Regions from separate parts of the Homo sapiens genome. Here all the other regions are linked to region 4. The links are contacts of gene promoters, found by promoter capture Hi-C in blood cells and fetal thymus (Javierre and others, 2016). All regions are on one chromosome and are shown on one strand. Each heading gives the region's core, a stretch centred on a gene start or on the middle of the fragment in contact. The rest is flanking DNA. Distances are from core to core; before and after follow the strand shown.

The links. The method cuts DNA at HindIII sites, captures the fragments that hold promoters and counts their contacts. A CHiCAGO score of 5 or more calls a contact.
Region 1: a contact is called between a fragment that was not itself captured here and the fragment with the promoter of HEG1 in region 4, in 2 of 17 cell types (naive CD8 T cells and naive B cells). The highest score is 6.1, in naive CD8 T cells.
Region 2: a fragment that was not itself captured here is called in contact with the fragment with the promoter of HEG1 in region 4 in 1 of 17 cell types (naive B cells); the score reaches 5.3 in naive B cells.
Region 3: a fragment that was not itself captured here is called in contact with the fragment with the promoter of HEG1 in region 4 in 1 of 17 cell types (naive B cells); the score reaches 5.1 in naive B cells.
Region 5: a fragment that was not itself captured here is called in contact with the fragment with the promoter of HEG1 in region 4 in 1 of 17 cell types (total B cells); the score reaches 6.0 in total B cells.

The regions. Positions count from the first base shown.
Region 1 is chr3:125,218,770-125,221,469 of GRCh38, reverse strand. No RefSeq gene overlaps it. Among named protein-coding and RNA genes, the nearest start is that of SLC12A8, 7.4 kb to the right of the region's middle. The HindIII fragment of the contact is 240 bases long and covers 1,157-1,396 here.
Region 2 is chr3:125,279,833-125,282,532 of GRCh38, reverse strand. The region is part of intron 5 of ZNF148 (zinc finger protein 148); the gene reads left to right. Among named protein-coding and RNA genes, the nearest start is that of SLC12A8, 68 kb to the right of the region's middle. The HindIII fragment of the contact is 237 bases long and covers 1,279-1,515 here.
Region 3 is chr3:125,260,495-125,263,194 of GRCh38, reverse strand. All of the region lies in intron 7 of ZNF148 (zinc finger protein 148), which reads left to right. Among named protein-coding and RNA genes, the nearest start is that of SLC12A8, 49 kb to the right of the region's middle. The HindIII fragment of the contact is 177 bases long and covers 1,320-1,496 here.
Region 4 is chr3:125,054,679-125,057,378 of GRCh38, reverse strand. HEG1 (heart development protein with EGF like domains 1) reads left to right here and starts at 1,382. Exons shown (of 17, transcript NM_020733.2): 1 at 1,382-1,804. The coding sequence starts at 1,489. RefSeq lists an enhancer at 819-868 and silencers at 1,119-1,498, 1,579-1,668, 1,729-1,888. The HindIII fragment of the contact is 2,339 bases long and covers 769-2,700 here.
Region 5 is chr3:125,243,240-125,245,939 of GRCh38, reverse strand. All of the region lies in intron 7 of ZNF148 (zinc finger protein 148), which reads left to right. Among named protein-coding and RNA genes, the nearest start is that of SLC12A8, 32 kb to the right of the region's middle. The HindIII fragment of the contact is 966 bases long and covers 954-1,919 here.

The DNA.
Region 1 (2,700 bases), core at 27-2,526, 160 kb before region 4:
GAATTCTGCACTCAATTACAACTCGCACTTGCCATAACCTTCAAAAAAAATTCCGTAAAGTGGCACACAAGAATCAATGGCCAGTGGGAAACAAGGCACCCTCTTAATACAATATGTGCTATGCCCATTTCCCAAACCCTAGTATAGAAATGAGCTAGAGGATGTGGCTGGAACTGTAAGGCCTCTAGAGCCACTTCCTTCCCCTTGGCACCTTACCACCTCGTGCTGACCGGGGCATCTCAGTATATGAGAATCGAATGAATAAGGAGTAGGATGGCCAGGACTCATCAGTGAGCAGGTGGGCCCCAGCCCTTTTCTCACTGCTCCAGTTGCATAGGAGCAAAGAAAAGAAGAAGCAAAAAAGAGACATGTCCACATGTGAGGCTTAGTAATGGAAAATGCTCACTGCTGGATGGGGTTCAGTAAGTATTCTATGATCTAATCAATCAGGCCACTCCTGGAGGGCAGGGCTTGTGAATATTTCTCAAATTCTTTGGAACCCTCCCTCCCTTTACTACTACCACAGCCCAAACCACCTTCAGGTCTTGCCTGGGTTTCTGTAAGTTCCTGTACATGCATTCTTCTTGGCCTCTGGTTCTTGCTCCACATAACAGCCATGCGTCAGAAGCTTCCCAGTTGTTACTTGGAGAAACATGGCATTCCTTACCTTGGCCCTGTGAGGTCATCTGCTGCTCGTAGCCCCCGCCTTCCCTACAGTAAGGCTCTCATCCTCTCTCCTCTTTCACCACTGGACTGCTTTCAGCTTCGGATACTTGGTCATGTCCTCTTGGGCTACAAAGGCACTATTTTCTCTCTACACTCCATTAAACCTCCTACTCCCACCCCATACATCCCTTGGATTTCAGCCCTAGCATCACTTTCCCAGAAAAGCGTATCCTGATTTTCCTGATTAGGTCACATTAACCATTTCAGAATCTCTCTCATCACTCTGTACAGTTTCTCTAGCCTCTAGACGGCTGTTTGTAATGTGTGAGCATTTGATGAAAGTCTGTCTTGCCCGCCTGCCTGGAGCGGTCTTGCTTCCCACTCTGTGTTCTGTGTTGGCCACAGTCGGTGAGCAACAGATGTTTGGTGAATGTGGTTGAAGGAGGGGATGCAGGCCCCTGAGTTATATCCAAGGATGGAAAGAGAAGCTTGCCGGTCCGGCAGAAGAATCACTCGCAGGGAGTTTGAGGCTCTGGATAACTGCCGTAAGACCAGAAAACTGGACATGTGATTTTCAAAATGGGAGGGAAAATAGTGGATTGTGAAAACGAGATAGCTGATCTGGATTTCAGTCCCCAGTAAAATTCTAGAATGTTCATAACCACTCTGCCAGGTAGGCTCGGCAGGTCTTAATCATTAACTCCATGCTACAAGTAAGAAAATGGAAGCTTAGACACATTGGAGACCGTGGGCAAGGTCATAGAGTGAAGAGGGAGAATCAGGTCTCAGATCCAGACCTGACTTCTCTCATCTACACTCTAGACAGCCTGTCACTGGGTCTGCCGTAGATGGTATTTGAGGAAAAGCTAATGCTAATCACTTTGTTGTCACAGTCTAGTGAGGCTGCCACTGTCATCATAAAATAATCTGGACCCTGTTTCTCTGGCTCCTTTCTGCATCTACATTTTGTTTTGTGCTCCCACCAGGTCCCAGCCCATGACAGATGCCAGGTGGCTGATAGAGGCAGAATGACTTTCTCTTGTCAGGGCAAACCCCCAGAATCAACAAATAGCCTAGATCCTGGAGGAGAGACCTGTCCAACAGGAGCTGAACACCCGACACCAGGAAAGCTGCGGCCCTTCCCTCTCCACTCAGTCTTACCAGGGAAGCCAGAGGAGGAGACTGGCCTGCCCCAACTTCCCTGGGAGCCAGGCTCTCTCAGCCTGTGTGAGGGCTTGTGCTTTGTTCCGGCCTGCATCTCCCGAGTCACCCCCTCCCAGCTCCCCGGAATGCTGGGTGGCCCTCTGGCAGGACACCCTCTTGGACCTGGGGCTCTTGGAATTGCATGTCAAAGTCCATGAAGAAGGAAAACTTTTTTCTGTTTTATCTCTTCACCTGGATTAAAGAGGTTGCATTGTGCAGAGGAGAGAGCCTGGCATTGGAATGAGACCTATGTTCCAATCTCGGCTCCACCCTCAGAGCCGGCAAACCCTTGTGAGTGTGTGCAGAATTCCTGTGATTTTTTTAAATACGCAGGCTTGCCCCAGGGAGGTGCATCACAATGACCAACTAAAACATATATATGCAGTTTATATAATTACTCTCTTTAAATAGTAAATTACTTGTGCTGCCTTAGTGATATATCCACCTTCTCCCTGTCATTGAAAATTGTAACTACAATAAGACACCACTGCCAACAAGATGTATTCCATCTCTCAGGTGTTTTGAAGAGGGGAAAAAATACTATCGGGCTAGAAATCTCATGATTTTCAAACCTTGGCTGAGCATTAGAATCATCTGAGAAGTTTAAAGAAAATGCTGATTTCTAGGCCCCACCCCAGACCAATTAAGTAATTAAGTCAGAATATCTGGAGGTGGGTCCCCCAGGTATTGGTATTTTCTGAAACCACCCCTAGGTGATTGTAAAATGTGCACCACACTAGGTGAGCCACCTCTCGAGGCACTTTTGACTGTGGTTCCAGGGCCTAGGCTGTGAGATAGATATGTTTTTGTGTACATACCTATTCACATCAT
Region 2 (2,700 bases), core at 148-2,647, 230 kb before region 4:
TTTCTCCACTTGCTAAAACCTGATTGCTTGGTCTATGTAATATACCATATTTCTCCTGAAGTAGCAATGACAAGGGGCAAGATAAAGCATCTGAAGATGTCTAGCAGGCATCTTAGAATTCAAAATTTTAAACATAAAATTCTTCAGTTGTAATGGTGTCCATATGTTGGGGAAAAAAGAAAAGCAAAGATGTTTTATGGAACCAGTTGCAGGTAAGACTGCTAATCTCTAAGGCAAACACACTCAGCTGGTAGATCACATTCTACTAAAAGATCTTGAAAAGGTGTGAGCAAGAAAAGAAGGCAAGTCTATACCGGGGAAGAAAATTTTGCCTGCGTTAGTGTGCTATTTGTGTTCTGCTAAGGGATTTTATTCTTTGCCTACCCGCTTCTCTCACTACTCAGTTATCTGAAGACTAAAAAATTGAAAAGTAAAGTATTGCTTTTAGCAACAAATTTAAAAAACAAGAAAGTGGTAAGCTAGGAGGAGTAATTGTTATGGACAGCAGGCAGCCAGGTCCTTTGACAGGTATAGAGTCTCCACTATGCTCCAGATACCATTTTGAACACTGAGATTATAAGGGTGAATAAAAATCAGTTGGATATATTTAAAACAGGTTACAAATTGGAAGGGCCATTGATGCTCATCTGAGTCAAGATGAGTTTACTCTATGTCCTTTATTACTCTGGCCTAAAAAGAAAGTAAGGAAAATATAAAATGTCCAAGAATTTGGTGTTTCTGTCTTTGAACTTAAAAAAAGCTAGATTTTCCTGTGTGTTTATCCACAAGGCAGTGGTAGCTGTTTCATCCATAAAATTCACCTTGAATTAAGGCTTGAATCTACAATGAAAGGCAGCAGTACCTCCAGTGCCAGAAAACAATGACCTAGAACTCCTTAACTCTTCATAAAAGGGCTTTGTACAGTCAAGGATTACATCCGTTTCACATTAAGCAACTTGGGCCAGATTTGTTCTTTACAAAGCCTTTCCTTGCAGTTGCTATGCCACAGAAAGCTATTGAAGTGCCATGTTTTTTGGCAGTTGGATTTTCTTATTTGTTATCAACATACATGAAAAAAAATACCTGGTGCTGTCTTGTTTTTAGTTCCATTTTATATAAGTATTTAACATCTTTTTGTTTGTTTTATGTATAAAATATTTTGAGTCATATTTTAAAAGATTTTGTGTGTTTTCCTTTTGCACAGTGTTAACTTGCTTATTATTATGTGACTTGGAGGGGTTGAAAAAATTCAAAACTGACTGGCCCAGAGATGAAGCTTTCCACTTTCTTTGACTCTCCTCAGGAAGCTGTGACACCCACTTCCATTCTCCTGCCAAATGTTTCCCTTCCATGACTTTGGTGCATAGACTTTGAAGCATTGTTGACCACATTGGCTGTTTGCCCAGAATCCAAATGCCCTGTATAATTTGCATAATAATTACCACTGATCTGCATATAGTATAGGCTGAACTGTCTTCTTGAATTTAAAGTAAAAATGTTTTAAGGATTAAAGCTTTTTTCCCTTACGTACTGCCCTTTTCTAGGTTTGAGAAGGGGTCATAGCTGTGTGTTTGCAGGCCCTAATCAGTTTCCACAGTTCTTTATATTTATTTCCCAGATTTCTCTACCTTTGTTGGACAGTTTCTTAGCTCCCATTCTGTATGCCCACACCTACAGCATTGTTTCCCTCTCACTGGCCATACCCCTCCTGATCAGATCTTCTAGTTTTCTTTGCTGTTTCAGCATAATGTTGTGCCTTTTTTTTTTTTTTTTTGCTTTCGTCAATAATGAAAAAGGAATCATTATTTTCACTCTTCCACATGTCTGATGAAAGGCAATTTTTTTTTTTTTTTGAGATGGGTTTTACTGTATTGCCCAGGCTGGAGTGCAGTGGCATGATGATGGCTCATTGCAGCCTTGACCTCCTGGCCCAAGTGATCCTCCCATCCTCAGCCTCCCAAGTAGCTGAGAGTACAGGTGTGTGCCACCACACCTGGCTAATTTTTGTATTTTAGTGGAGACGGGGTTTCCTCATTTTGCCCAGGCTGGTCTCGAACTCCTGAACTGAAGTGAGCCACCCACCTCAGCCACCCAAAGTGCTGGGATTACAGGCTTGAGCCACCATGCCTGGCCAAAAGGCAGCTTAATGTTGCACATTGAACAAGTTGTTGATAAATTGGAATACATGCAGCCTAAGGTGAGTTTCTCTGTGGTACCATCCAAACCAGGCTTGCAATACTCTTAATCTCAATAAGCCCAGAAAGACAAGGTTGCTTTGTCTCTTGTCTTCCTTCTTTTTACCCACTTCTATTTTTTAAAAAACTGAATTTATAAGTGCTGAATAATTTTCTTATTCAGTACTTATGCCCCAGATGGACCCCATACCCACTTCTAATTTATTTATTTGACAAATATTCTTAGGAATATGTTTAATAATAATTTAGTAGTTCTAGAATAACCTTAGTGATCCTAGACTGAAACAGACCATAAATTCTACCATATTGTAACTTGAAAAGTTAGTGTTCTCTTTTTTTTTTAGTAATAGGTAACCACTTACATGGTTCAAAAAAATGTGTTAAGTGGACAGTGTAAAACCTCCCTCCCATTTTATCTCTTGTCTGCCCAGTTCCCCAGCCATCACAATCAAGGTTATATACTTCTGTATATATATCCTTCTCAAGTAGTTTTTATGCCTATGCA
Region 3 (2,700 bases), core at 159-2,658, 210 kb before region 4:
AAAGAATTCATCTCTGTGCAACAACTATAGGCAAGAATAGTTTCAAAATGGAATTATACACTTTAAATGGATGAATGGAATGGTATGCAACTTAAATGTCAAGATGTTTTCAAAAAAATGAGTAAAGAACTTGACAAAACATTTTAATATAAACTGAAGTGGATCTGCTAAGTTGTGTTACAGCGAATGGTGGGAAAAAAAATACATGTGGAACAGAATAGTTTAGTTGAACTAATTTACAAAGCTTGAGAAATACAAAGCATTTAAAGTTTATGGCCTTTCATGTTAGTATTTGTGACCAGTACTTTGTGAGAAACATTTGAATACATTATGTGTCATTGAACCAATAGTGTCAATAGTGAACTTCATTTGCTCTGGTGGGCTTAACCATTATCAGTGTTCCATGAATTTCTGTCAGCTATGGAAGCTGAATGTTCTGATTTACTCTATTATATAGCAGTTTAATATCTTAGAAGTGGTAAAGTCTTATTGGGAGCTTTTGAATGTAAAGCCAAAATTAAACTTTTTCTGAATTAATATCACCAATCTCAATCACTGAAGAATAGCTTTAGAAATTAGCTTCTGCTGAAGACTTGAAAATGTTTCTTAATAAATTCAGCCTGTTATTACAAGGGAAACCAGTGTTTATATGTGAAATTTCTCCCATGATAAAGTTATCTTGACAGCACCTAATATTGAATCACAAAATGCTGTTTTATGTACTTCCTATGCTATCAGTTAGAACAAGAAGCAAAATCTCCACTCTCACACAAATAGGCAGTGGATGTATTTTCCAAGCTCAAACTACAATTTCGTCAGATTTTGGACCTTGATGCAAGTGCAAAGAAAGTTTTCATATTTCAGAATCCACTTAATTGTGCAACTCTGCCTACTCTTTAATTGGAAGTAGTTAATGTCCAGTGTAATACATGATAAAAGGCAAATATCAGGGATCTAATAAAATTTTCTGTAAATGCCTTCCAAGTGGTGAATAATGCTTGATAAAATCACATTTTCATGGATTGATATCAGTATCTGTCTTTGTGACAAGACGGTTTCAAAGATGAAATGCATAAAATCTCATTGCAGATCAGCATTAACATACATTTACAATTGATTTTAATGATAGGGAATGCTAATTTTGAAGCCCTATAAAAGAGAATTCCAGCGTTTTCATTAGTAGAACTGTATGGTGAAAAGTTATGCATTATTATTATCATAGTTTGAATTTCATTAATAAAATTTTTGTGGAAATTGTTTTCTCTCTTATATGAGTTTGTATACAGTATCCTTGATTTTACCTTTTGGTCTACAAAGCTTAATATTATTTACTCTGTGGCCCTTTGTGTTAAAAAAAAAAAAAAAAAAACTTGTCAACCCCTGTCAGGTTATTTTGAATGCCCCACCCTCTCAGTTCTTAGACCTCTGTTTTCTTGGTGACACTGTCATTTATTCTTCCTCTGTCATGGTCATGTTAGACTAGTGCTCACCAAGCTTTAGTCTTCCTGTGACTGTAGTTTCTTATTTCCCAGGCACTCTCTCCTATCAGTCCTCCTCATGTCGTTTAGTACTTAGGTTTCAACAGTCCTTTGTCTTCACAAGGACCCACAATCCAGTGATTCTACCTCCTTTTCACTATCCCTCATTTTCCTCATATCTTCATTTTCCTTATTTAATTTAAATTGTCAACATTTATCATATTCACTACCTTGCTTACATTCATACCCTTGCCCTCTCATACATAGTACTTACGTTGGCTAAATTACAGCCATAAGTAAATTTAATGATCTTTTTATTCACCTGACTGTGTTACTCCAACAGAAAGCCACAGTGAATTAGGGTCACTTTAGATTTTAAGAGGGCCCATAATGACTTCTGGAAATGATTTCCTTAGTCCTTTCATTCTCCTGCTCATCCAGATTGGGTCTTTAGTTCAAACAATGGGCCAGCTCCACCTGTCTATTGTCGTAATTAAAATTTTATTGGAACAGAGCCTTACCAGTTCCTTAATGTATTATCTATGGCTACACAGCAAAGCTGAGTAGCTGTGACAGAGATCATATGGCCCCTGAAAGCCTAAAATATTTACTTTGTGGCCCTTTTAAAAGCTTGTCAGTCTTTCTCCTAAACAGGTGTTTCATACATTCTCCTTTCCATAAACCTCCAACACTTCCCCCACCCTGTATCAATCACTGAGCAAATTGAAGTAATCAGACGAGAAATTCAGTAAGTTTGTAGTACTTCTGCTTATCAATAAATCAGGAAGTTTTGATCTTTTGGAGAAACATGGGCAAATAGTGATTTATTTTATTTTGCAAAAAAGCTCAGGATTTTTTCCAATGTTTTGTTTAAGTATGTTTAGGTATGTATAGGTAGTTTAAATCTTCGTTTTCCATGAAGGGAAATATGTGTTGTTGACCTCAGACTTCTTTTAATGTACAATTTACATACAATAAGCTTTACCATTTTTAGTGTATAGTTCTGTGCGTGTTGACAGTTTTGTAACTACTACCACAGTCAAGATACAGACTAGTTCTGTCACTCCCCAAGGGTCCCTTGCACTTTTTGAAGTGAGCCCCTCTCCTACCAACACCCCATGACAAACACTGATAAGATTTTTGTCTCTGTAGTTTTGCCTCTTCCAGAACATCATATAAATTGAATTATATGGTATGTAGCTTTTTGAATCTGACTTACTTC
Region 4 (2,700 bases), core at 133-2,632:
AAATGACTCACTTGTACTGAGTCACCAGAAAGTGGGCCTAGGCCCATCTGCAGCTGCCCTGGACACTACGATCTCATTCTCCTGGAGGTGGGTCATGGAGATCTGGAGACAGAGAAAAAGAGAAGAGCAGAGAAATAGGATGGAGAGCCAGGCCTGACAGTGAGGTGCATACTCATATTTTCACGAGCATTTGGTTGTCAGACAGGGGCCCCCAACAGAACTCGCAAGAACCCCAAGGAGCTGCAACATTTGTTTCTGTTGCAATACTATTTGTTTCCGTTTGCGAATTATTGCAAACTCTGAATTAGGAGACCAGAATTAATAATATCACATGGTCATTCACAGATCAATCATTTCGTCTTCGGGTCTACCTTCAGAATCTTGAGCAAGTTATTTTCCCATTTGAGCCCCTCTTTCTTCACTTAATGAGGTGGCTTACAGTCCTAAACTTTAGACAGTTTATTATTCATTTACTGGGGAGGGAGAGGTTATGGAAACAAATGGAACTTTATTGACCAAGAAAATTTGTTTACATGAAATCTTTGAATCTTTCCCCATAGGTTTCCATTTAAAATTCTGTGTTCTCTGGGCATCATTTGGTTTAATTTGCGATCTGCAGTTCTTTTCCTGATGATGAGTTTGCCCTAGCCTGCCTGAATTCACAGTTTTCTTTTCCCTGCAGCCTGTTTGGGTGTCCTCGCGGTGACATCTCTGCAGAACTCTGGTGTGAGCCAAAGGCAGTGGTCGGATGGGAACGGCATCCAAGCTTGAGAGGGCGTGGGGGATACTCGGATTCTCGCGTTGGCCGGAGGGTGAGGTGTTAGGTTTGGCAAACACGAGCTCATCACCAGCCCTGGGGCCTGAAGAAGGGGAGGTGGGGGTGGGAGTGGGGACACTTCAAATCAATAACGGCGGTGACAGCGCGGGCTGGGTACCAGGGGACCGTTCCCTTTCTCTCTCCTATCAAAGCACTTGGGATAATCTAGTCTGGTGCTAATCACATTACCCAGGACCTGCTTTTCACCTACTTCTTGTGCGTTTAAGGAGTTGGGTAGGTGGTGCCCGATTCAGAAGACTCTGGAGCATGTGTGTGACAAAAGTTGCAGCACCGTGGCTCCGCTGACCTCATCCCGCTGTCCCGGGCCGGGCCGCTCTCCAGGCGCCCGGCCCCAGCCCCCTTCCTGCCCTCTCCCCGCCTCCGGGCCCGCCGCGCGGGGCCGGTGATGTCAACTGAGGAGGAGCCGCCCGCCAGCCAGCGACCCGCCCGGGCTAATTAGCATGTAGCGGCGCCGCGGGCCGCCTCCGCCCAGCCAGCCCGGCCCCCGGCAGCCCTCCCGCGGCTCCCGATAACTTTTGAGGCGGGGAGCGCGCTCGCAGCCTCACTCCGCTCACTTCCCCGGCCCCGCGCGGCCCCCGCCGCCCGCTGCCCGCTGCCCGCTGCCCTCGCCCCGCGCGCCGGGCATGTGAGCGCGGGCGGGCGCCGTCACCATGGCCTCGCCGCGCGCCTCGCGGTGGCCGCCGCCGCTCCTGCTGCTGTTGCTGCCGCTGCTGCTGCTGCCGCCGGCGGCCCCCGGGACGCGGGACCCGCCGCCTTCCCCGGCTCGCCGCGCGCTGAGCCTGGCGCCCCTCGCGGGAGCGGGGCTGGAGCTGCAGCTGGAGCGCCGCCCGGAGCGCGAGCCGCCGCCCACGCCGCCCCGGGAGCGCCGCGGGCCCGCGACCCCCGGCCCCAGCTACAGGGCCCCTGAGCCAGGCGCCGCGACACAGCGGGGACCCTCCGGCCGGGCCCCCAGAGGCGGGAGCGCGGGTGAGTGAGAGCCGGGAACCTGGCGCCTGGCCAGTCTGTGCTGGGGGCGTGGGCGCGCCCCGGGCTGCATCCCCAGCCGTAGGCCCCTCCGCGCGGCGCGACCCAGGGTGGGGGCTCCTCGCCCGGCGTGTGCGGGACCCTGAGGGTCGGCGGGTAGGGAGGGACGCTTTCGCAGTTGGCTGGACTGAGGGGTGTGACTATCCCGTTCTCCTCCAACCCTTTGGAAGAAAACTTATTTCCTATGGGGTACCCTGTATCTCTTCCACCCCACTTTAAAAAAAATGGAAAGGAAAGGGAAAAAGACTGCAAAGCATCTCTCCCACCTCCGATATCTGGCCAGCCGGTCCCCAGTTTCATTTTTTCCGCTATACAGAACTGGCCTCTCCAGGTACAGGGCTCGACTTTCTCATCTAAATAACTGATTTTTAAGGGGTTCTAGGACGGGATATTGTAAAGGACAAAGGATGTACGTAGTTTGAAACAAAACGCTCTACTGGTTCGACTTAAAAGCAAAGGAACGCGGTTGGGGTTGCATGGTTGAACCCCTGCAAGGCACAGGCTGATACAGGACCATCCCTGAGCCTCCTCCCTCCCCTTTCCTTTCCCAATGAACTGTTGCTCCGTGGTAGCCACCGCCTGTCCCACGCAGAGAGAAGGAACTGACCTCTTCTCCCTGCTACCTTTGTGTCCAGTTCTTTCTTATGATCTGGAAAAATATGCCACATACTGAGTGGAATTCTAACCATAATACCATTATGACCTTGGGACTGCTGTCTCTTTGCGCTCACTTTCTCCATCTGTGAAATGAAAGTGATGATCCCTGTTCCTTCTAGCCTCCTAGTGATGATGTGACAAAATGAAAGTAAAAATAAATGGAAAGTGCTTTGAACAAAGTC
Region 5 (2,700 bases), core at 187-2,686, 190 kb before region 4:
AGGTAGGGGCCAGAAGAATAGAGGACCCTGTTTTAATTTTTATTCTTAGAACAGCAGAAGACCAATAGTATGCTTTAAACATGATCAGATTTACTTAAATAAACAGAGGCTGGCTGTAATGTGGAATTAGAAGAAGATAATAGATCCCAGAGAAACTACTCCTTAGGAGGATATTATGTGATAGGCTAGACCACAGGATGATGGTGTCTTGACCTTTGGGTGATGACAGTGGGAAGTGGAGAGAAGTGAACAGATTTGATAGGTATTTAGTAGGCTGAATCAGTAGGGCCTGTCAATTGTCCAAATATGGAGAGAGGATAAAGAAGAAAAAAGCTGTACAGTTCTCTCATTTGTGCAGTTTAGAGGGGAGAGGAGTGCCATTTGTGGCATAAGCTGTAAGTTGAAGATTGTATTAGTCCATTCTCACATTGCTGTAAGGACATACCCAAGACTGGTAATTTATAAAGAAAAGAGGTTTAATTGACTCACAGTTCCACATGGCTGGGGAGGCATCAGGAAACTTGCAATCATGGTGGAAGGGGAAGAGGCAAGTCTTACGTGGTGGCAGGTGAGAGAAAGCGAGCAAGAGCAGGAAAATTGTTTTAGAAAGCAGTCAGATCTCGTGAGAACTCACTATCAGGAGAACGGCATGAGGGGAAATGCCCCCATGATCCAGTCACCTCTCACCTGGTCCCTCTTTGACACATGGGGATTATGGGGATTACAATTTGAGATGAAATTTGGGTGCGGAACAGAGCCAAACCATGTCACAGTCCCTAAGTTTATTGTGGGATATGATGTATTTGAGATCCTTAAGTGTTACAGAAGTGGATATATTACATAAGCAGTTTGGATATGTGGTTTTGGAGATCTTGAGAGTAATTAAAGCTATGGATAGATGGGCTTCCCTTCATGCCAAAGAGAAAAATATAGAATGAGATAAGCAGAAAGCTTGTTTTGAAGAACTAAAACATTTCACATTTGGAAGGAAGAGGGTGAGCTGGAAAGACCACTGAGAAGGAGCAGTTGGAGAGGTTGAAGGAGTATGGATGTCATAGATGCCAAGGCAAAAGTGAGTTTCAAGAAAAAGAAAGGGATCACTTTGAGTTGAATGCTTGTTGAGAGGACTAGTAAGATTTCTGGGCCAGGTGCGATGGCTCATGCCTGTAATCCCAGCACTTTGGGAGGGCAAGGCGGGTAGATCACTTGAGGTCAGGAGTTCAAGACCAGCCTGGCCAACATGGTGAAACCCCATCTCTACTAGTAATACAAAAATAAGCTGGGCATGGTGGTGCATGCCTGTAATGCCAGCTACTCAGGAGGCTGAGGCAGGAGAATCACTTAAACCAGGGAGGTGGAGGTTGCAGTGAGCCGAGATGGCACCATTGTCCTCCAGCCTGGGGGACAAGAGCGAAACTCCGTCTCAGAAAAAAAAAAACAAAAAAGATTTCTGAAGAGACTTGGTTGTATTGGTGACCTGAGTGTGATTTACAAGAACCATTTTGATATGGTGGGTCATTGCAGCAGCCGGATGGAATGGTTTGAAGAGGGAAAGGAAGGTTTGCAGTTGCCAAAAATCAGATTAGTATGTCAAACCATAGTGAGCTAGATTATACATAAATCTTATGTCTTTATAACTCTCTCATATATAGTTTACCTTAACAGTTACCCATATATTATAGTAAAAATTTTTATCCATAAACAGCTGATTGTGTGCAATGTCAGAGTTACCAGGGAGAAACATCACATTGGGGAAACAGTCTCACTGGAAAACTGTTAGAAGAGAAACTTTAGGGCCCTTGGGTAGGGGAAAATTATCATTTTGTGGGACACCTGGAGATTGTTTTTTTCCTTACCGTGTTATTGCTTTCCTGGATGTAAAAAACATTTAAAATTTCTTGATACTTTTCAGATAAGCTTTTTGTGTCATTCTTGAAATCACTCAAGTGCTGTATAGATTTATCTTCCTTTTCCAGTAGAGAGGCTTTAGCCCTCAAGGGGAAAAATGATAAAGGGATTTTCTCAATAAGGGAATTTTTCATTTAAGTGTTTTTATTTTTCTCAGGAAAAATAGATATCAGTCATTTTATTCTTATTTCAAGAATCAAGAAACAGGTCAGACGTGGTAGTTCATGTCTGTAATCACAATACTTTGGGAGGCTGAGTTGGGAGGATCACTTGAGGCCAGGAATTCGAGACCAGTCTGGACACCGTAACAAGACCCTGTCTCTATAAAAAAAATTTTCTTAATTAGCTGGGCATGGTGGTGCATGCCTGTGGTCCTGGCTACTTGGGAGGCTGAAGTTGGGGAGGATCACTTGAGCCCAGGAGTTCACGGCTGCAGTGAGCTATGATTGTGTCACTCCACTCCAGCCTGGGTGCCAGAGTGAGACCCTGCTCTTCAAAAAAAAGAATCAGAAACATACGAAAGTACACACATCAGGAATAAGATGTAGAGCCCATTATCACTACTTCTTTTTAATTGTTTGAGAATAGTGGATGAGAAAAATAAGTTAAAAAATATTTTCTGCAAGCAATATGATTATAAACTTGGAAAACCCAAGAGGTTCAACTGAAAAATTACTGCAAATAAGTAAATTCATTAAAATAGCAGAAAACCATACCCTTTGTATAGCCACACACACATACGCAGGGAATAGAAGATATAACAGAAGAAAACACTCTTTTCACAATATCAAT